Linked DNA regions of Homo sapiens: region 1 is linked to region 2. The links are contacts of gene promoters, found by promoter capture Hi-C in blood cells and fetal thymus (Javierre and others, 2016). All regions are on one chromosome and are shown on one strand. Each heading gives the region's core, a stretch centred on a gene start or on the middle of the fragment in contact. The rest is flanking DNA. Distances are from core to core; before and after follow the strand shown.

What was found. The method cuts DNA at HindIII sites, captures the fragments that hold promoters and counts their contacts. A CHiCAGO score of 5 or more calls a contact.
Region 1: a fragment that was not itself captured here is called in contact with the fragment with the promoter of SIAE in region 2 in 2 of 17 cell types (naive CD8 T cells and total CD8 T cells); the score reaches 7.3 in naive CD8 T cells.

The regions. Positions count from the first base shown.
Region 1 is chr11:125,140,515-125,146,857 of GRCh38, forward strand. No RefSeq gene overlaps it. Among named protein-coding and RNA genes, the nearest start is that of PKNOX2-DT, 21 kb to the right of the region's middle. RefSeq lists an enhancer at 1,277-1,833. The HindIII fragment of the contact is 5,881 bases long and covers 1,590-6,343 here.
Region 2 is chr11:124,670,236-124,676,559 of GRCh38, forward strand. It overlaps SIAE (sialic acid acetylesterase), which reads right to left and starts at 3,504. Exons shown (of 10, transcript NM_170601.5): 1 at 3,407-3,504. The coding sequence starts at 3,473. SPA17 (sperm autoantigenic protein 17) reads left to right here and starts at 3,669. Exons shown (of 5, transcript NM_017425.4): 1 at 3,669-3,717; 2 at 5,003-5,183. The coding sequence starts at 5,030. LOC124902780 (a long non-coding RNA gene) reads left to right here and starts at 5,190. Exons shown (of 2, transcript XR_007062933.1): 1 at 5,190-5,327; 2 at 5,431-5,870. RefSeq lists silencers at 3,440-3,559, 3,532-3,690 and an enhancer at 3,600-3,779. The HindIII fragment of the contact is 8,074 bases long and covers 1-5,186 here.

The DNA of each region.
Region 1 (6,343 bases), core at 3,280-5,779, 470 kb after region 2:
ACCAGCCCCTGCCAGTCTCCCACAGCCAGGGTGGCCAAGCCCTCAGGGCTCTGCAGGACAATCCTCGGCGTCTGCTGCTGCTGCTGCTGCTGCTGGAACCTTCTCAGGGTGTCCTCTGCTGGCAGGCAGGCTTCGCACACAGGTGAACAGAACTCACCACCAGTGAGAAAGCTGGCCGTCTCACACCTTGGCTAGTTTGTGAAACCCAACTCATTCCACCAATGTTGCCTCATGGACTGGCTTTGGAAATTCCATTAATAGCTCCTCTCTGGCCTTGAAGCCTTGCTACCCTAATCCATCAATGACCATTTCACAACCGGGGAATGACATCTGTCCATGTACTCACTTTTTATGGTCCGGTCCTTTACAGCCTACACACATTCTTCCTGAAGATCTCTTACTGGGTCCTCATGATAATGAAATTCCAGCTGTGCAGAGGGAAACTGAAGCTTGCAGAAATTAAATATATTCACCAAATATCTGAACAAAGAAGTAATCGGTGGAGCCAGGGCAAGAACCCAACTCATCCCATTCCTAGTTCCTTCTGCCTCCTTTCTTCAGGGATCTGCTGGAAGGAAGTAGGGAAGTGGGAGGCCGCACACTCTGGCACAAGGCAAAGGGGTTAACAGGAGTGTGTTGACTTTTGTCCTTCTGCCAAGTCCCCTCACATCCAATTTACATTGTTATACAATGCTGATCTGTACCATTCTTGTTAATGTTTCTTTATAGATGTTTTAGTTATGTCTGTCCCATATGTGCGTCTGACTTTTTTCGTAGAATCTGAGCTAGCTCCTTGCTGCACTACTACCCCGGGAATCAGAACAGGTTTCCGCATGCAGCTCTTTGGTGAGAGTGACTTAGGGCCCCTCGAGGGACATGAGAAAACGATTTCGATACCGTGAACACTGGGGCAGGTAGAAACCCAACTTATCCCAGCTTTTCCATCTTCCTGCCAGGCCCCGGCCGGGCTTCCCAGCCTCCTCGTTAGCCTCTGTGAAAAATTAAAGCCCCAATAATCAAATCAACCCTTGTAAATGCTCTAAAAGCCGCTCCAGAGCACCAAGGAGCCAGCAAACCCCAGACCCAAATCCATGTCAAATTTCATAGATATAATTTAAGCAGGGATCAAAACCCACACTAACCTAGTAACTAAGGCTGCTCAAAATGCACTTTATAGTCCATCTGCCTCTCTGCTTCAGGGAGTCTGTATTAAATTTATTGCAAAGTAAAACAAATAAACCCAGGCAAAGGCAAGATGGAAATCTGCATACTGTCAGAGAATTAGCAGCCCTCTCGGGTTAGGAAGGCTGCCTCTCAATTTGCATCTCTAAGGAGTTGTGACTGGGCTGGGGGGCTGGGATGGTCGGGGCAGGACGGAGACTCGGAGCAGGCCTGCCCCCTGCTGGCTGACTGTAGAACTACAACCCTCTGGCCGCGGTGGTGGGCTCTGCAGGGCTCGCCCCGCCAGCTTTTGAAAGACAATCTGCAGCTGAAATAAATGTTGAAAAGGTGTGGAATTGGAAGAGCACGTAGTAGAAAGAGGGGAGGGAAGGGCTCTGTGGGGAAGAGATCCTCATTTCTGAACATAAAGCTTGAGGAAGGCGGGAACTTGAAGTGGGTGGATATAGAGTTTCAGAGCTGTCTTTTCTGTTGTAGGAACAGGAGACTGCGGTGCATTTCTTGACTCCTCTTCCCCTTCTTTTCCTTCTCCCTTTCCCTTGCTCTCCATAATCACAAAACGCAGAAGACTGGAGTGCAGGCGGCAGGGGTCCTTGCATGGCACTGTTGGCTTTGCTGTGTGACCCTTGGAGAGAGCTGTGCCTGAGACCAGGGTGAGGCCTTGCTTGCAGGGTGGTGCTGGCGGGTTGGCGCCTGTGTGGCTGGAGACGGGGTGCTTCCTGAAATTCCGCTTCACCCCAGGCCTGGCACTGCTCAGTCGGCTCACCTGTGGATAGAGAGGGCCTCTGAGGCTCCTTTCAGAGTGAATATCTGAATTTGATGACTCTGGTTGAAGAGCTCAGGCATCAGTCACAGACTTTCCAGGGAAGCTCCCAGGATCCCCGATACTCTCCTAGGATATTCCCATCATAACCTTCAGCACTGGCTCCAGTGGTACCCTCTCTAGATTGAGGCTCCCCCTGACTTCTTTAGTCAGAGATGGGCTGTCTTCCTTGTACTCCTTTTATAGGTAGGTAGATGGTAGGTAGATAGGTAGACAGATAGATGTAGATATATTGATATACTTATAATCACGTTGTAATAATTTATTTATCAACCCCATCCCCTAGAATGCAAAGTCCTTGAGCTCCATGGACAAGGGGAAGGAGTAAGGCCTGGTGAGTGTCATGGCCAGTCTCAGTGTCTACCCGCTCCCCAATTCCTGCTTTTCCCAGCCAGCACCTGAAACACAGTATGTGTCAAATGAACGAAAGAATGAATGAATAAAGAATAAAGTGGCAGGCCGGGCGCGGTGGCTCACGCCTGTAATCCCAGCACGTTGGGAGGCCGAGGCGGGTGGATCACGAGGTCAGGAGCTCGAGAACATCCTGGCTAACATGGTGAAACCTCGTCTCTACTAAAAACATAAAAATTAGCTGGGCGTGGTGGCACGCACCTGTAGTCCCAGCTACTCAGGAGGCTGAGGCAGGAGAATTGCTTGAACCTGGGAGGCTGAGGTTGCAGTAAGCCGAGATTGCACCACTGCACTCCAGCCTGGGTGACAGAGCGAGACTCCATCTCAAAATAAATAAATAAATAAATAAAATAAAGTGGCAGAAGATGATGAAGGTTTGGCTGCACAGTTGACCTAGAAACCTGGCTTTGCCCTTGGCTTCCTATTGTATCCCTTATTCTTTGATTACCCTCATGATAGTCCTAGCTTGTCTACCTCCTGAGTGGTCCTCAAACTCATCTGCTTCTCCTCCTTTCCCTCAAGAGGCAGCCCCGCTAAGTGTGAACAGCAGAGAACATGGGATCAGGAAGACCTCAGTTCTAGTCCTGGCACCCATGCTTCACCTAGCCAGGAGAACCTAGCCAAGCCTCAGTTTCCATCTTTTTTTTTTTTTTTTTGGACAGCACAGCGTAGTGGTTAAGAGCATAGACACCCAAGCTAGACTGCCCGGGTTTTTTTTTTTTTTTTTTTTTTTGAGACAGGGCCTCCCTCTGTCACCTAGGCTGGAGTGCTGTGGTGAAATCTTGGCTCACTGTAACCTCCACCTTCTAGGTTCAAGCGATTCTCCTGCCTCAGCCTCCCAAGTAGCTGAGACTACAGGCACCCACCACCACGCCTGGCTAATTTTTTGTATTTTGGTAGAGATGAGGTTTCACCACGTTGCCCAGGATGGTCTCGAACTTCTGAGATCAGGCAGTCTCGGCCTCCCAAAGTGCTGGGATCACAGGCGTGCACCACTGCCCCCAGCCAACTGCCTGGGTTTTAATCCTGCCTCCTCCATTTGTTAGCCAAGCGGCCCTGGACAAGTGACTATTTAATCTCTCTGTGCTTCAGTTTCCTCATCCATAAACTAGAATTAATAGAATCTACTTCATAGTGTTGTCGTGAGGATTAAAAGAGCTAATACACATAAAGCCCCTAAAACAACACCTGGGACATGGTTAGTATTAACTAACGCAATAAACACTAGCAATTATTAATGAAAAGCAAAGGAATTTTATAGAACTGAAGGCAAGCACCAGAAGAGGCAGTCCCAGAAGAGGCTTTGAAAGGTAAGGAGGGAGCTTATGGATGAACAAGCGAAGCATTTCCACAAGGAACACACGCAGTGATGCTGAGGAATGATGCAGCCAATCAGGTGGCAGGGAAAAGCTCACGACTTCTTGGAACCTGCAGAGCCCAAGTTGGCATTTTTTCCAGCAGAATCAGAAGCATCAATGGGGTGAGTCCGAAGTGTCGAAAAGTGGAGCAGCTTGTTCTCTGGGATCTTCAGCGTGTTTGCTTATGAAATGTCAGCCACGCTGGCTCCCCCGACCTCCTCAGCCTCATTCCACCCCCTCTTCATCTCACCCTCCAGGCTCCATCCATAAAGAAACGTGTTCAGGTCCTCTGACAGAACTTGCTCCTCTTCCCTCAGGGTCTTCACACATGTGGGCGTCCTGCCCTGAGTACTCTCTCCTGTTTGCACCTGTTAATCCTCCCTTCAGGTCTATATTTGGATGGCAGGTTCTCTGGAAAACCTTCCATCCCCCTGTAGCCTGGGTGGGGCGGCCCTAATCTGCGCTCCCATAACACTGTGCCCTTCCCTGCTTACCCTTGTATCTGTCAGCTCCAGCTATGTAGCAAAATGCCACAGACTGCGGGGCTTAAACAACAGACATTTATTTTCTTACAGTTCTGGAGGCTGGATGTTCAAGATCAACGTGTTAGCAAGGTTGGTTTCCGGGGAAGCCTCTCTGTTTGGCTTGTAGGTGGCTGCCTTCTCCCTATGCCCTCCCATGACCTCTTTGTGCACAGGTTGGCAGAATGAGGAGGAGGGAATCTCTGTTTTTTTCTCTTTTTATAAGGACACCAGTCCTATTGGATTAGACCCCCACCCTTGTAACTTTAACCTTAATTACTTCCTTAAAGACCCTATCTCTGCAGGACACGGTGGCTCACACCTGTAATCCTAGCACTTTGGGAGGCTGAGGCAGGCAGATCACTTGAGGTCAGGAGTTTGAGACCAGGCTGGCCAACCTGGTGAAACCCCGTCTCTACTAAAAACACAAAATTAGCCGGGTGTGGTGGCGGGTGCCTGTAATCCCAACTACTCGGGAGGCTGAGACAGGAGAGTCACTTGAACCAGGGAGGTGGAGGTTGCAGTGGGCCGAGATCACGCCATTGCACTCCAGCCTGGGCAACAAGAGTGAAACTCCATCTTAAAAAAAAAAAAAAAAAAAAAGAAGACTTATCTCTAAATACAGTCACATTAGTGGTTAAGGTTTCAACATATGAATTTGGTGGGGGGTGCAATTCAATCCATAACACCCCATTAGAAGATAAATTCCACGAGGGTAGGGCCTTGTCTATGGCTATGTGTTCCCCAGCACTGAGGCCTCACCCTGTCTCCTCATGATTCTCTAATTTCTACAGAACCTGCTCATAGCAAGGGTGCAATAAATATCTGTTGGGTGAATGAATGAATGAGTCAATTACTTGTGATGACAGCAGGAGTTTGGGAAACATAAGAACTCATAATCTAGTTTTAGGTTGTCTTTTTACAGAAGAGGAAACTGAGGCATGAGGATCCTTGCTAGTTCGTGGCAGAATGAGAGTTGGCAGTCAGATTCTCTGTCTCCCCCGCTACTCTGAGTCCATGCTTTTTTCATCTGGACCAAGAGTTGTCAGATAGCTGTATAAAACTGCCGGTTAAAAAAAAATCCTTGTCCAGACTTTCCTTAGACAAAAAAGTCTTTGGGCTGGGGGTAGTGGCTCATGCCTGTAATCCCAGCACTTTGGGAGGCCGAGGTGGGAGGATCACTGAGGTCAGGAGTTCGAGACCAGCCTGGCCAACATGGTGAAACCCCGTCTCTACTAAAAACACAAAAATTTGCTGGGCGTGGTGGCGGGCACCTGTAATTCCAGCTACTGGGGAGGCTGAGGCAGAAGAATCACTTGAACCCGGGAGGCAGAGGTTGCAGTGAGCCAAGATCGCGCCATTGCACTCCAGCCTGGGTGACAGAGTGAGACTCCATCTCAAAAAAAAAAAAAAAAAAAAAAAAAAAAAAAAGAAAAGAAAAAGAAAAAGAAAAAAGAAAGAAAAGTCTTTGGTTTTTCATTGACAAGCAAATGAAACTGTCTCTCTGAGGGTCTCCTCTCATCCTAGCAACTTAGTCTGCTAGGACTAAGCAATCTGTTAAGGCACTTGAAATGTGTGTCCTCCTTCCCCTCTCATTAGAGGCCTGGAATTTGGTCTGGGTGAGGTCAGGGATTTCCTTGCCACAGGCTTTGATTCTGAGCTGACTACCCAGGTGTGTGGCTCTTTAGAGTCCTGCCTCTCTGCTAATGGGTTTTGTTAACTGTTTGTCATTTGCTTATGCAAATCTACCTCTTTCTGCATTAAAATGAACCCAATTATAAAGTGAAATTTCACAACTAAACCACTTAGTGAAGGACATTAAGCGACCAGAAGGAATTGATTTGTAAAAACTTCAGCGATAATTACCAAATGTTTCTGAAATGTGACTAAGTTCTAGGTTTTTCTTTAAACAAACACACATACTTGCACATTTTCATATATGTACTGCACAGACACTTGCACGTATTTTCACACACCTGGTTTCCATCTTCTCACTATGGGACTTGTTCTTGCTCCTTCTCTGGGTCTAAATTTTCCCCAAATAGAGGAAA
Region 2 (6,324 bases), core at 2,254-4,753:
CTGTCACAATTTTACCCATTCCACAAGCTAAATTATACTAAAAGGACAAGAGAAAGCACACTAGAAACTGGATTCTATTCTAGAGAGTCACTAACAAGACTGAATAAGAACTCGCTTTAACGACATCATTCCTATTTTTAACATCCAGCCTATATAAAAGTATTTTATTAATACAAACATCCATCCAAATTATCTCAGCGTGTTCCTCATCAAAACTTAACAAGGAAAAAAATAAAACAAATTATATCCCAATTTATCTGAATAAAACAGACCCCAAACTACCTAAAATAATTAACAAAATTTAGATCTTTTTAAGCATTTTAAACAAAAATGATAGGCAGAAAAGAGAACCAGAATTAACAAGGCTGACATTTTCCTCCCTGGAAGCTACAAATGATGAGGGCCCCTTCGGCTATACTTAACAGGGCAGCACAGCTAATGGAGTCGCCTACACAGCTCCGTGGCCTATTTATCCTGCTCTTGGAATAACAGCCCAGTCCCTAAAAATCCTCAGCGCTCTCTTATGAGCTAGTGTGATCAAGAAACCTACATGACAATGAAAGATCACCCAGAAGGCCTACTGGGCTGGAGATGCACGGTTACCATGAGCAAAATGCTCTAAGAAAAGAATACAACGCCCCAGAATTGCATAAGCAGGTTGGCAGCCTGCTGGAGGGAAGGGGGAGGCACATGTGTGGGAGGGCCTTGTCTTGGGTAGGTGCTTCATATGGAACCAAAAAAAGGAAAACCACAGACATAAATAAGAGCTAAGTAGAGAGAGGGTGGGGGTAGGGGAATGGCTGCAGCTTGCACATTTGTGTGCAGTCAGTAGTCCATAGGCTAGGGGAAATACCTTCCCAAGTCTGTCTGTTTTCACCAACATACACTTAGTGAACATCTTTGTGGATGACTCTGTGCTGGGCTAAAGAGTTTTAGAGGTGGAAAGGATCTTCATAATCGTAGTATAAACACGCTACTTACTGATCAAGAAGTATAATCATATTACTGATCAAGTAACTGAGACCAAAGCAGATGAAACAATTTTTTAAAATAGCTTGCATGTTCATTAGTTAATTCAACAAATATTTATTGATGCCTACTATTTTAAGCATTGGGGATATAACGATGAAAAAATAATAATAATAATAGCAGGCAAAAATCCTTGCCCACAGGGAGCTTCCATTCTACTAGAGACTTTACCTGTGGCAGGCACAGTGCTAAACACACCACAAACATTAATGTTCTTTGGTCTCAAATCACACAGTTTATGACAAGTTAGAAAACAAGTCACTTGATTCCAAAGTTGAAATTCCCACTTTGCCGAAATTAGATACTTGTGGCAAATCAAAGAAAAAATCATATTCCTCATCTTTGTAAAGTTTAAATTCTAAGTTCATTAGAGTAGACAGTGGAACATCAAGGAATTGTGCAATGGACAAAAAAAAAGAGAGAGAGAATGAGAAAGAGAGCAAGGCTGGTCATTCCTTGTGCCAAACACAAGACACATACATTTACCATTTGATTTCTTGTTTGTTTGTTTTTTTGAGACAGAGTCTTGCTCTGTCACCCAGGCTGGAGTGCAGTGGTGCGATCTCAGCTCACTGCAACCTCCGCCTCTGGGGTTCAAGCGGTTCTCCTGCCTCAGCCTCCCGAGTAGCTGAGATTACAGGCATGTGCCACCACACCTGGCTAATTCTTTTTTTTTTTTTTTTTGATATCTTTAGTAGAGACGGGGTTTCACTACGTTGGCCAGGCTGGTCTCGAACTCCTGACCTCATGATCTGCCCACCTTGGCCTCCCAAAGTGCTGGGATTACAAGCATGAGCCACCGCGCCTGGCCAATTTTTTTGTATTTTTAGTAGAGACGGGGTTTCGCCATGTTGGCCAGGCTGGTCTTGAACTCCTGACTCTAAGTGATCCGCCCACCTCAGCCTCCCAAAGTGCTGGGATTAAAGGTGTGAGCCAACATTTGGATTTTTTAGGTCTTCAGTTTTTTCCTTCATTTGGGGCTGGAGTAGAAAAACAGGAATTAGTGTTATGGGGAAGAGAGGGCAGTGGTTGCCTCTGGTGAGGAGCTCCGGATGCATTGGCGAGGAGCACAATGGCAGGCTCAATAGACTGGCAATGTTCTAGTTCTTAAGTTGGGTACTGCTCTCATGGGTGTTCATTTTATTGTGTCATTGTTACATATAATTTTGTACATCTCAAGCATTACATGGTAAACATGGGCACAGGGAGAATGACTTAAAGGAAAAACGTCAGGATACGCAACCAAGTAGAGTACTAATGAATGAAAAATGTGATCAATGTTAATGAAGGTGATGTAACAATAAGACCCAAAGGAGGAGATAAAATACTGACACTAAAATAAACAGCCTTTAACTGAAAACCTAATAAAATATCTTTTCCCCACCTCATAAGATGGATCTCAAAGGTCACTGAGTGGAGATAAGAGTCAGGAAATGGCATACAGAGTGCTAGCATTTTGCACTTTTGTTAGACTCTGAACAATCATTTATGGGCTGCAGTTTGTCTGAATCTAGGTACTTTTCCGGCTCTCAGGTAGAGCAGGAGTCATTTTTCTGCACGCTGTTCTCCTACCCCAACTATCATTTCTTAACAGGGATCTCTGGGGTCCACTCTTTGAGTGTTTTGAAACAGAAAGGAAGAAATCCAACATTATCACTTTAGTTTGCATTATCAGACAGATTGCACCTTCTGCTTTCTCCATACTGTGACCCAGTGTCCAGCCTAGGGTATTCGAATGGCAAGATCTGACCTGCGCAACAGCCAAAGGGAGCCACCAGCCTCCCCTATGCCACTCACATTTTCCCACCACCAATATCTGTAAGCGGTACCAGAAATCAAAACTGAGCCTTAAATAGTCAGAGCTAGTGAGGGGGTTGTATTTCTTAGCCCTGATAACCACTTAAACGAGTAAAATTTAATTCCCCTAAGGAACCCCGCCTGAAGCAAACCCTCCCCAAGGGCACCACTGAGGGGGTAGCGCTGAAATGTTTTGGAAGATTCAGTCACCTGTTTCCAAATATTACCTAACTAGCTTCGCCTCCTTCCCTCCGAGCTCCCCTGCAGTTACTCCAGGACCCCGAAGGCCTCTTTCTGGGCACATTTGGGCCTCCCCACTCAGACAAGCCGCACTTTCTCCCTGCTCACAGGCTGCATGTCAGGGATGGTAAGTGGGGGGTGGAGAAAGTGGAGAGGCCGGGGTTCAACCCAGCAGACTCCTGCAGACCGGGCCTCGGTCGGAGACGCGAGCCCCTAGCCTAGCTAGGTTCCTTCGTCGACCTTGAGAAAGGGGCGCGGATCCGTGTCCCGCAGAGGACACGGGGTCTCGGAGCCCGCACAGGCTGAGGGGCAGGGGTCCGGCCGAGCCGGGCCGCCTCACCTGCACTTCTGTCGGCCCACAGGATTAATGGCAGCACCAGCCCGAGTACAAGCCCCGGCGCGACCATGCTTGCAAGGATCTGACCGCCGCCTAGGACTGGGAAAGTGGGTTCCCGGCAGGGGCGGGGCCTGGGCGGGGGCGAGGCCGACTCCACCCTTTTGCAGTCCTCGCAGCCTCCCGCGACCTCAGGACTGGGCTGTACTCGCCCCTTCTCGGCCGCCGTAGTTTTTTTTTTTTTTTAAAGAAAAAACGGTTACCCAGCAACTAGAAAAACAACCGGAACCGGCGGCACCAGCTCGGAGAGAAAGGAGGTGAGGCCGCTTCCCCACTTCCTCTCCGATACCAAGACCTAGCCTTTTCCCTTCGTCTCTCTTATTCTCTCAGCATCCCAGACACAGCCTCGGAGCCCTGGGCCGTTTGGGAGCCGAGGCAGCCCATTCTGCGCGAGTCTGAAATCCCAGGTCCTCAACATCCCGCCCCCGACTAGACCCGTCTGCCCCCTCCGCCCGCCCTCCTCTGCCCACATTGGTTCAGAATCTCGCCAGCTCTTTTCACCACTCTAGAATGGTTCGATACCCCCATCTACTGCTCCCTCAGAAAAAGCAAAAGAGAGGAGTCAGGCGTGGTGGCGCGCGCCTGTAATCCCAATTGCTCGGGAGGCTGAGGCGGGATCATCGCTGGAGCCCAGGAGTTCGAGGCCAGAGACCCCCTCTCAAAGAAAAAAAAAGCGATGAAACGAGAACCCTCCATAGTCTGAGCCTCATTAAACCGTCCAGTTCTCCCAACCTGGACCCCTACCACGGCCTCCGCCTCTATTCCGCATTGACGCACACTCTCACATTAACAGGCCAGGTCCCGGAGGATTCTTTTCATACTCAGTAGTAGCTCAGCCCGCTGCTTAGCAGCTACCCTTAATCTAGCCCTTGTATTTCAAGACAGAAAGAGACAACCTGATCAAGAAGAAACCGAAAAATATAAGAATTCTAAAACTTTAGAGGCTGGGATTTCAAAATCATGACACACAGCCCCATCCCATCCCATCCCTCCCTCACACACACGCACGCACAACCCCATTCCACAGTACGAAGGTGTTCGAAGCATTGTGGGTCATGCTTCAGAAGTGGCAGCAAGGGGAAAGATTGTGCAACTTCTTCATTCAACAAATTAATTTCTAGAACCAGGACTAATTTCTACTCTTTAAAAAAAAATAGACCTCAAAGAAGGTCTTCTCAGCAATTGACAATGAATTTAACTTTTTAGCAATCATTCTCTCTAAATTCCTGTGTGATAGCAAAAATTACCCTTACCTTTTGAGCATATAAAGGGTAAAGAGAGAAAAAGTCATATTGAAAATTATGGGTTTTTTGCAGGATTTTAAATGATTTGGCCTAGTGAATGGGTCTGTGTTTGTATTATACTAATTCACAATGGAGATTTCAAAACTCTTTGGAAGAAATGGATGGGCTTGGGTTGTGTTAGGGAAAAAAGAATTCAAGTCCAGATGTATGAGTCTCAGAAATAATTTGTTGGCATAGTTGTGATTATATAAGTAAAATCAGACAAATTTAAAGACAGTACTCTTTAATGAATCTTTAGGTTCCATAGGCAGTTCTTACCAAGAAGATGTCGATTCCATTCTCCAACACCCACTACCGAATTCCACAAGGATTTGGGAATCTTCTTGAAGGGCTGACACGCGAGATTCTGAGAGAGCAACCGGACAATATACCAGCTTTTGCAGCAGCCTATTTTGAGAGCCTTCTAGAGAAAAGAGAGAGTAAGCTTTCTAAAATTAGTCATTTTTTAAAATAAGAAACTAAGCATTTGTTTATGGTAAAACTTGCTTAAGACCATCTCCATTCTGCAGAAAGCCTTTTATGAGGCAGGGAGTTTCAGATAACAGTTCTTGCTCTTTGAAACAGTATGTACCTCTTTGATATGTTCTCTTAAATTCGTTTCATATTATCGAAGATTACCAGTTCATTATTCAGACCGTCTTCATTGTATTTCTCACGGACATACAGCGTGGAAGGTAACTGCAAAAGAGCATACATTTCTCGGGAGAAATCAGTGGGGGAAAAAAAGATCATACAGTCTACCCTCGCCACGTTCCAGCATACTGTTCCTATGCATCCCTGGCAGCTGACTGTTATTCCTGAGATGAGTATCTGTGGTTTCCTTTCAATTTTGATTCCTTCCATTTGAAAGTATTTTAAGTACTGCAAAAAGAATTCTGCACTCTTTAAATAAACTGATATTCACTGGGGTATATGAAACTGTTCTGCAATAACGGCACAGACAAACTGATTTGAAAGGTGGAATACCAGTTTGGAAAGGTAATTTATATTCTTTATGCTAAATTCCATCCTGCACAGAGACCCAGATGCCCACTAACAATAACTATTTGGTTGAAAGCCAAGGCAAAATTCCTTCACTCCTATAAATAAAATTTACAAATCCCCAACCTTGAAGGTTTATGACTGTCAGGACTTTACCAGTTTTGTACTAAAAACCTATCCTAAGCCAGGCATGGTGGTGCGCACCTTTAGTACCAGCTACTCAGGGGCTGAGGCAGGAGGATCACTTGAGCCCAGGGATTCAAGACGGTAGTGAGCTATGATTAAACCTGTGAATAGCCACTGCACTCCATCCTGGGCACTCCCACGACCCCTGCCCCAACCCCTGGAAAGCCATTGTTGATTAGAACATCCATTTTGTATAAATTCTTGTCATCATTACTTTTTATTACAGTATTCTAACAGAGTGGTAAAGGTGACTAGAAATAGGCACAAGCAAACAAACATTCTATTGTAATCATTTTATAGTGGAAGAAAACCTAGCACAAGGGTAGAATTAAAACAACTCCCACACACACTGCATAGCTCCACCCCTTGCTTTTTTTGCCCTGCCCTAGCAGA